Regions from separate parts of the Homo sapiens genome. Here all the other regions are linked to region 2. Evidence: promoter capture Hi-C in human tissues and cell types (Jung and others, 2019). All regions are on one chromosome and are shown on one strand. The core of a region is centred on a gene start or on the middle of the fragment in contact, and the rest is flanking DNA. Distances in the headings are between cores, read along the strand shown. Region 1 overlaps VAV2 (vav guanine nucleotide exchange factor 2). Region 2 holds the start of SARDH (sarcosine dehydrogenase). Region 3 overlaps VAV2 (vav guanine nucleotide exchange factor 2).

Region 1 (2,700 bases), core at 18-2,517, 160 kb before region 2:
TGGCAGGTGATGTGGCCGTCACATCTCCCGGGATTGTTGTTTCAGCCCCTGTCTTTTGAGCCTGATGTGGGGCTCCAGGGGATGGGGCAGACCTGGCACGCCCTCACAGAGGGAATCCCGGTGCAGGGTGGGCATGGGACCCTGAGCCGGGAGCACCACCCAGCGTGGGGTAGAGGAAGGGGCCCGAGGGACAGTGCAGCGGGGAGGGAAGGAGCCCTGTGAAACCACCGAAATGTACTGGAACCGAAATGAGGCTGGAAGTCTGAGATCAGGGTGGCGGCGGGGCTGGTGCCTTCTGGGGCACAGGGAGACTGTGTCCCGGGGCACTCTCCTGGGCTTGCAGACGGCGTCTTCTCTTTTTGTATTCTTGTCGTCTTTCCTCTGTGCCTATCTCTGTGTCCAAACTACCTCTTTTTTTTTTTTTTTTTTCCTGGGGCAGGGTTTCGCTCTTGTTGCCCAGGCTGGAGTGCAGTGGCCTGATCTTGGCTCACTACAACCTCTACTTCCCGGGTTCAAGTGATTCTCTTGCCTTAGCCTCCCTAGTAGCTGGGATTACAGGTGTGCATCACCACACCCAGCTAATTTTGTATTTTTAGTAGAGATGGGGTTTTACCACGTTGGCCAGGCTGGTCTTGAACTCCTGACCTCAAGTGATCCATCCACCTGTCTTGGCCTCCCAAAGTGCTGGGGTTACAGGCGTGAGCCATTGCGCCTGGCAAACTTCCTCTTTTTATAAGGACACGGGTCATATTGGATTAGGTCCCACCCCAGTGACAACATTTTAACTTGATTTCTCTTTGAAGTCTCTGTACAAGTAAGGTTAAATTCTGAGGTCCTGGGGATTAGCACCCCTATGTATCTTTTTTGAGGGGACACAGTTCAACCCGAAACACTCCCTCATTTTTCTTTTGAGCAGATGTGTGTCTTCCCCTGCACCAAATGTGGGAACCTGTCTGCAGCCTGCACCCCAGCACCCCTGGCCTCTGGATACCCTGGGGGGTTTGTGGGTGAACATTTTCTCTACTGGAGCTCTGGGAGAACAGAAACATCTCAATGTGGGAGTCTCCCCGCTTCCAGTGCTGGCCGCATTTCAGGCTCCGCAAATCTGGGGATGTGGTAGCCCCAAGGCCGCAGCCGTGTCTGCATGGAGGAGGTTTGGTCAAATTCAGAGGGCTCTGCCTTCGTGGGGCCAGGTGTCCTGTGTCCTGCAGCAGAGGCTTCTGACATGTCCCAGGCCCTGTGCATGTTGTGTGGATTGTCCTGCGTGGTCCTCACACGTCCGACGCAGATGCCCGTTCCTATCCCAGTGTATAGACAATGAAGTTGGGTCTCAGGGAGGCCAATTGCAGGGGGAGCTGATGGGCCTGGCCTTAAATTGGGTCTTCCTGGGTCCAAGTCTGTGATCTCCATGGTCCTGACGAAACTGTGTCACTTTTGGCCCAGAGAGGTGGGGGTGGGAGGTTCTGGTCTGACCTGTAGGACATGGAGGCTCGGAGCATCCACAGAGTCTCCTGACGTGCAGACCACTAAGGCAGGCAGAGATGTGTGGTAGGAGGAGGTGCATGGTAGGGACGTCGGCCCATCTCCTTTGGCCTCTGGAGCGCAGCTGTCCTCCCCACCCCCAGCCCCCTCCGATGGTGGTGGCACATTGCCACTGACCCCATCGGCCCGTCTCCTGGGAAAAGGTAGAATGTGGCAGTGGGCGCTGGGGTTCCAGAGTCAGGGACAGCAGGGCTGTCTGTGCTTACGGGAGGGCCTGGTGTCAGAACAGTGGGGGAAATAAATACCCCAGGAGGGATGGGCCCAGCCCAGTGCCTACAGACCTAGGTAGAGTCACCAGGCCGGGCCGGCAGGAGCCCCTCAGGGCAGCTCCGGGCCCTTGCTGGAGGGCAGGAGAGGCCCCTGCGGCTCAGGGCCAGCCTCCCCATGTGGGCTCTCTGGCAAGGTAGTTGGACTTTTTTATGTGGCACCCACGGAAGCTTCTAGGCCTCATGAGACCAGGCTCGAGGTGGTGCCATGGCTCTCCCGACAGGCTCCCCTGGTCAGAGCCACCACAGGCCATGCTGGATCCGGGGAGGACACAGACCCTGCCTCTTGATGGGAGGAGTCTCAGAGAGTGTGCAGCCATCTTTACTCTGCCTCAGGGTCCCTGTCACAAACGGGGAATAACCATGCCTCTTCTGAGGCTCGGGAGGAGACGATCTGAGGAGACCCGTGGGGAGTGGGTAGCCGGCCTGTTGAATGGCAAGCGCCCAATAAATGGTCGCCATTGTGACCACTGGGCCCCCGGAGTGGTGCTTTTACATGAAATGTTCCTAAAACTGGGCCATGGTTTTCAATATCAGTTGAGAGTGTTGGGGCTAAGGCCCTTGGCCCCCTTAAGGTTCACTGGAAAATCAGACAGGAGAGGCTGGGCACGGTGGCTCATGCCTATGATATCAGCACTTTGGGAGGCTGAGGCGGGCAGATCACCTGAGGTCAGGAGTTGGAGACCAGCCTGGCCAAAACGGTGAAACCCCGTCTCTACTAAAAATACAAAAATTAGCCGGGCGTGATGACACGCACCTGTAATCCCAGCTTCTCGGGGGAGCTGAGACAGGAGAATTGCACGAACCCGGGAGGCGGAGGTTGCAGTGAGTTGAGATCCTGCCACTGCACTCTAGCCTGGGCGACAGAGCAAGACCCTGTCTCAAAAATACA
Region 2 (2,700 bases), core at 136-2,635:
CCAAAGAGGAGGTCCTCTGCCCCAGGACCCCCACACCACCCCAGGTAAGCCTCAAACTGGCGGGGCCAGCTTTCCACTGGGCAGCCAGGGGCCTAAGCCAGTGGGCCCTTTGCCTTTGAGGCAGGGACTGAGAATGGTGTCAGCACGTGGTCAGGCCCAGAGCCCAGGCCCCCTCCTCTAAGAGGTCCTCCTGGATTCCCTGCTGGAAGGAAGCCAGCCTTGTGGTGTCGTGTCTCTCCCTGGATCTGTCTGCTTCGTGGACCCTGAGCCCCTCGAGGGCAGGGGCTGGGTCTTAGATGTCACTATAGGTTTCCCAGCAGTGCTTTGTACACATTGGGCATTCAGTAAATGTAGAGGATAGACAAGCTGGCAACAAGACAGTCGGACATCCTCGGTGTGAATAAGAACACAATGATTTGATTGGTATTAATTACAGCAGTTTACTATACGATCGCTTCCGGTATTGGCAGCTGGCATCATTACAATATTAACAGACTGCCATTGAAATGCCCCGTCTTTGATCCAGCGCGAGGAGGAGATGTGACTTTCCATCAGCACCTGTTCTGATTCTTTGGGCATCCAGAGGTGTATTCTTTCTGGGTTTCCTCCACACCCCTCCTCTGGGTGTCTACTTCTGTCTGGGAAGGGGTAACTTGCCCCAGCCCAGAGTCAGGCTGCAGCATCCGGTCTGCCTCCTCCACCAGCTTGCTGTGTGGCCCCCTCCCTGGGCACTGCTGTCCCCAACAGTCAATGGAGGCTGGAATCCCTGCCCTGGGGGCTACGTGCTGTGCAGTAGCCAGTGGCTTGGGGGCATCTCCCCAAACACCAGAGGGGTCTGGGAGCTCGGGAAAGCAGGACGCAGACAGACCAGGAGACCCTGTCCCTGGGAAGCTGACCCAGGCCTTCTCACTCGCCTCTGAAGGCAGTGAGCATCCTGTCCCTGGGGGTGAGCAAACTGGGGCATGTGCTGAGATGACCTCACCAAAGGAGCCTCCCTGCAGTGGACGGGCCCCTGGCCCAAGCTGCTGCTGACCCCACCTTTCCTGCCCACCCTGCCTGTGCATAGCTCCTTCTGGGCGCGGGGAGCTCGGGCGGCTCCAGCAGGCAGGTGGTGCCTGGGTCTACTGCAGCAACCCTGAGGCGCCTGTTTCAGAGACGAGGAAATGAGGGTTGGAGCGGAAGGGTGACTGCCAGGTCGCCTACGGGTAATGGGGCATGGGGTTCACAACCCTGCTCTGCCGCCCTCAGAGGGAGCTGCCCACAGGGCTGGCCTAGAAGCCCCAACTAAGCTGGCCTAGAAGCCGCAGTGGTGGGCGGTACGCTCCGCCCAGATCCTGGGCGGAGACATGGGGCTGGCAGCGAGGGTGGGGGGCGGGGGAGGCCTGGAGTTCCGGCCAGGCCACTGCTTGGGAAGCAAGAAGGTGAAGGCACCTCTGCTGGGCCAAGCACTCTTAGGGCCGAGGGGCACTGCAGCTGACAAGAGGTACTTGGAGGTACACCCCCAGGGAGGGACGAGGCTGGGGCCTCCCCTATGTGGGCGGGGCTGGGCCTGGTCAGATCTGGCTGGGATCTCCCTCTGCCTCTGGCTGCAGGGACCATCCAGCTGCATGAGCAGGACCAGGGTTCACCATATGGGCAGCTGCCTCCCCGCCCCCTGCCGCTCCTCCCCACAAGTCTGCCTACCCTCACCAGGCGAAGGTGCCAGGCGCTCTCCTCGCTTGACCCCCACCACCCCCTGAGCCTGGGAGGAGGAGGGCGTTCCTGGGTCCTCTGCTTTGCAGTGAGGTTAAGTTGTTGCTCGAGGCCCCAGTCCTGTGACAAAACCCCCACCCATCTGTCTGATCCCAAGCCCAGGGCTGTCCTCAGCCCTCACTCCTGGGAAGCTGACTCAGGTACGAGACAGAGTTGGAGGGGGCAAGAGAGTGGGTTAATGTGGAGGCAGCTGTTTCCAGGGAGGTGGCAGGCAGGAGGGGCTCTGGGCTGTCCCCGCTGGGGCCGCTGCCAGCCCCCAGTCTGACAGTCAGAAGAGCCCTGACTGACCAGGCAGGTGGTGAAGGGGCACGTGGCAGCCTCCGGCGCCAGCAGCTGTCGCTTTTTGGGCACAGTCGGAAGGAGGAGGGAGGCTTTTGCCCACAGCTGACCAGGTGTGCTGTGCCATGCGGCACCGTGGTGGGTGGTGGGTGGTGGGGTGGGGGTGTTCAGCCTTGGAGGGCCTTCCTCGGTGCCACTCAAGCTGGCTTTCCCCTGGTGGGGCACCACTTTTGGGGGCTCCTGGAAGACTGTGGACCTTCAAGGACTGAAGGTATGTACAGACACATGCAGGAGGCATGCCTCCTTGTCCGGGGCCACCTCTGCAGGCAGGAGCCAGGCGGGCTGACACACTGAGGGCTGAGAGGCTGAGGACAAGCTCCAACACCTCCTCACTCCCCTACGCCGCTGCAATCAGACTCCCTGCTCCCTCCCTTGGGATGGGGCACTGGGGCAGGAGATGGGGGGCAGCCCTGACCAGCCTGAGAGCTGGGATCCCCCTCACATCCCCCACTGTGCCTAGGACAGGGTTCTGGGCTTCGTCAGGGCTTGGGCAGTGCCCACAGTTCAGGTGGGACAGAGTGTGGCAGTGGGTCCTGAGTCCCCCTGGGATGGTCAGAAGAGGGGGCAGGAGAGAGTCCCTGGCACTGCCACATGGAGGCCCTATGACCC
Region 3 (2,700 bases), core at 149-2,648, 230 kb before region 2:
AAGCTCCACTGTGTCTGCACTACAGGGACACCTGGAGAGGGAGGCCTGGAGCCCCAGAGGCTGGGGCAGAGGCAGATGGGGGTGTCCAGGCTGGGGGGTGGGGAGAGAAGTGGGAATGGAGAGAGATGGACGGCCCCGCTGGAGCGCAGGAGGAGTGGGTGGGCTTGGGGTGGATTGGACTTGGGTGATGAAGAGGGTGCTCTGGGGTCAGGCTTGAGCAGTGCGATGGACAGTGGGGCTCATCTGGAGTTGGCCCTAGGGGTTCAAGTCCCCCACTGGCCAAGGTTGCAGGGATGTCTGGGTTCTCCCAGCAGCCTTCCTGGAATCCGCTCTGGTCAGGGTTGGGGTGTTTCAGCTCCACCCCTGAGGTTCCCTGGTTGGCCTCAGGCTTCTTGTCTCAGTGGTGCTGATGCTGGTTGGTGTCCAGGTTTGCTGGACTTGAAGGTGGGAGGTCAGTGGTCTTGGTGGGTCTGGCCCCAGCCTGGGAGTGACCAAACTTAGCAGCCTCTGGCACTGTCAGATCCCTGGAGAGAGACGTCTGATTGGCACAGACTGAATTCCAGATCCTCCCTCCTTCCCTGTTCGTTGTATTCTCTACCATGCCAGCAGCGCAGCCGTGAGAAGCCGCAGTTCATCCGGCAGGAGGGAAGCAGGTGCAGAGGCTCGTCCTCGCAGGCCCGGCGGGCACGGTGGAATCCAGCTCTCGTCCTCGCAGGCCCGGCGGGCACGGTGGAATCCAGCTCTCGGGGGAAGTGTGAATCCCGGCATGTGGGATTCATCTCAGGCAACTAGACGGCTTTCACCGACACCCGGCCAAACTGCCTCAAAACCCAAAACAGTTGTCTCTTATTTTTAAGTGGTTTTTGCCTGTGGAAAGAGTGGTTTTTCTTAGAAAAGGGCACTGCCTTAGATTGATTTTTGGGGGACTCACTTATTGCTATTGATCTGTTAAAGCTTTAATCGGGAAATAGCCTCGTGGTGGTTCTCAGTGAGGCACATTTGCTGCAACCGAGGGTGGCTGTGCTGTCGCGAGCCGCTGAGCCAGCCAGCCGGGGGTCTCGAGACACCCTCCAGATCTGAGCTGGGGACAGGGCCCTACCCCGGCAGGTCCCAGGAGTGAGCCCAGGGCTGACAGAGGACAGTGCCATGGTCTGAAGCTGCACGAGAGGCAGAGGCCGATGGTGGCTCTCTCTCCCGGCTACAAGGCTCTGTGATGGGTCAGTGTGTGGCTGGAGGATGTCCCCAGGCAGCCCCAGAGCCCGGGTCGTGTAGGCTCTAGAGGACCGGCAGCTCTGTCCAGGCCCCCGGGGATGGCCCCATGGGTAGGGACCCTGGGGACCATGGGACTGGCCCCGAGCGCGTTTCTCTTCCTCTTCATGTTGCCTGGTGCATGGGTGGTACCAGAGCTTTGACAACTGCATCTCTGAGCCTCTCTTGCCTTTTGGTGGTGTTTTTCCCCCCCACAACCTTTTCAAATGTATTATTTATTTATTTAATTGGTACATAATAATTGTACGTTGTTTATGGGGTATGTGTGACACTTTGATACACATATGCCATTGTTTATGGGGTATGTGTGACACTTTAATACACATATACCGTGTGTAATGATGAAATGAGGGTCATTAGGATGCCCATGATCCCAAACATGTGGCATTTCTTTGTGTTGGGAACATTTCACGTCCTCTCTTCTAGTTATTTTGAAATATGCAAGAAGTTATCGTTAACTGTAATCCTCCTGCCGTGCTTCTGAGCACTAGGACTCGTTCCTGTCTAATTGCATGTTTGCCCCCATTAACCAATCTCTCTTCACTTTCCTGTCGCCCCACCCAGTCTCTGATGTCCATCATTCCACTCTGTCCCTCCATGAGGTCAACTTTTTTAGCTTTAACATATGAGAGAGACATCATATGATATTTAGGTTTTTTTTTTTTTTTTTTTTTTTTGGTTATAGAGTCTTCCTCTGTTGCCCAGGCTGGAGTGCAGTGGTGTGATCTTGGCTCACTGCGACCTCCACCTCGTGGGTTCAAGCCATTCTCCTGCCTCAGCCTCCTGAGTAGCTGGTACTACAGGTGCACACCACCACATCCGGCTAATTTTTGTATTTTTAGTAGGAGATGGGGTTTCACCACGTTGGGCGGGCTGGTCTCAAACTCCTGGCCTCAAGTGATCCACCAGCCTAGGCCTCCTAAAGTGCTGGGATTATAGGTGTGAGCCACTGCACCCGGCCCATATGATATTTAGCTTTCTGTGTCTGGCTTTTTTCACTTAACAATGACCTCTAGTTCCATCCACATTGCTGCAATGACAGGATTTTATTCTTTTTCATGGCTGAATAGTATTCTATTGTGTATATATGTCACATTTTCTTTATCCATTCATTCACTGATATTTAGGTTGATTGTGAATAGTGCTACGGTAAAGGTGGGAGTGCAGATATATCTCAAACACTGATTTCCTTTCTTTTGTTTACATGCCTGGTGGTAGGATTGCTGGATCAGGCAGATCTCTTTTTAGTTTTTTGAGGACCCTCTGTACTGTTTCCTATAGTGGCTGTATTAGTCTACGTTCTGACCAGCAGTGTACTAGTGTTCCCCTTTCTCCACATCCTTGCCAGCATCTGTTGATTTCTTGTTGATAATAGCTATTATAACTGGGGTGAGATGGTATCTCGTTGTGGTTTTGGCTTGCATTCCTGTG

What was found. The method cuts DNA at HindIII sites, captures the fragments that hold promoters and counts their contacts. A contact is called where the count stands out against the background at its distance.
Region 1: a contact is called between a fragment that was not itself captured here and the fragment with the promoter of SARDH in region 2, in 2 of the 25 tissues and cell types used here (lymphoblastoid cells and spleen).
Region 3: a contact is called between a fragment that was not itself captured here and the fragment with the promoter of SARDH in region 2, in 3 of the 25 tissues and cell types used here (bladder, mesendoderm cells and thymus).

What each region holds. Positions count from the first base shown.
Region 1 is chr9:133,900,808-133,903,507 of GRCh38, reverse strand. The region is part of intron 2 of VAV2 (vav guanine nucleotide exchange factor 2); the gene reads left to right. Among named protein-coding and RNA genes, the nearest start is that of VAV2, 90 kb to the left of the region's middle. RefSeq lists an enhancer at 566-635. The HindIII fragment of the contact is 4,251 bases long and covers 1-2,700 here.
Region 2 is chr9:133,737,037-133,739,736 of GRCh38, reverse strand. It overlaps SARDH (sarcosine dehydrogenase), which reads left to right and starts at 1,385. Exons shown (of 21, transcript NM_001134707.2): 1 at 1,385-1,483. The HindIII fragment of the contact is 19,009 bases long and covers 1-2,700 here.
Region 3 is chr9:133,967,180-133,969,879 of GRCh38, reverse strand. The region is part of intron 1 of VAV2 (vav guanine nucleotide exchange factor 2); the gene reads left to right. Among named protein-coding and RNA genes, the nearest start is that of VAV2, 24 kb to the left of the region's middle. The HindIII fragment of the contact is 3,149 bases long and covers 1-2,700 here.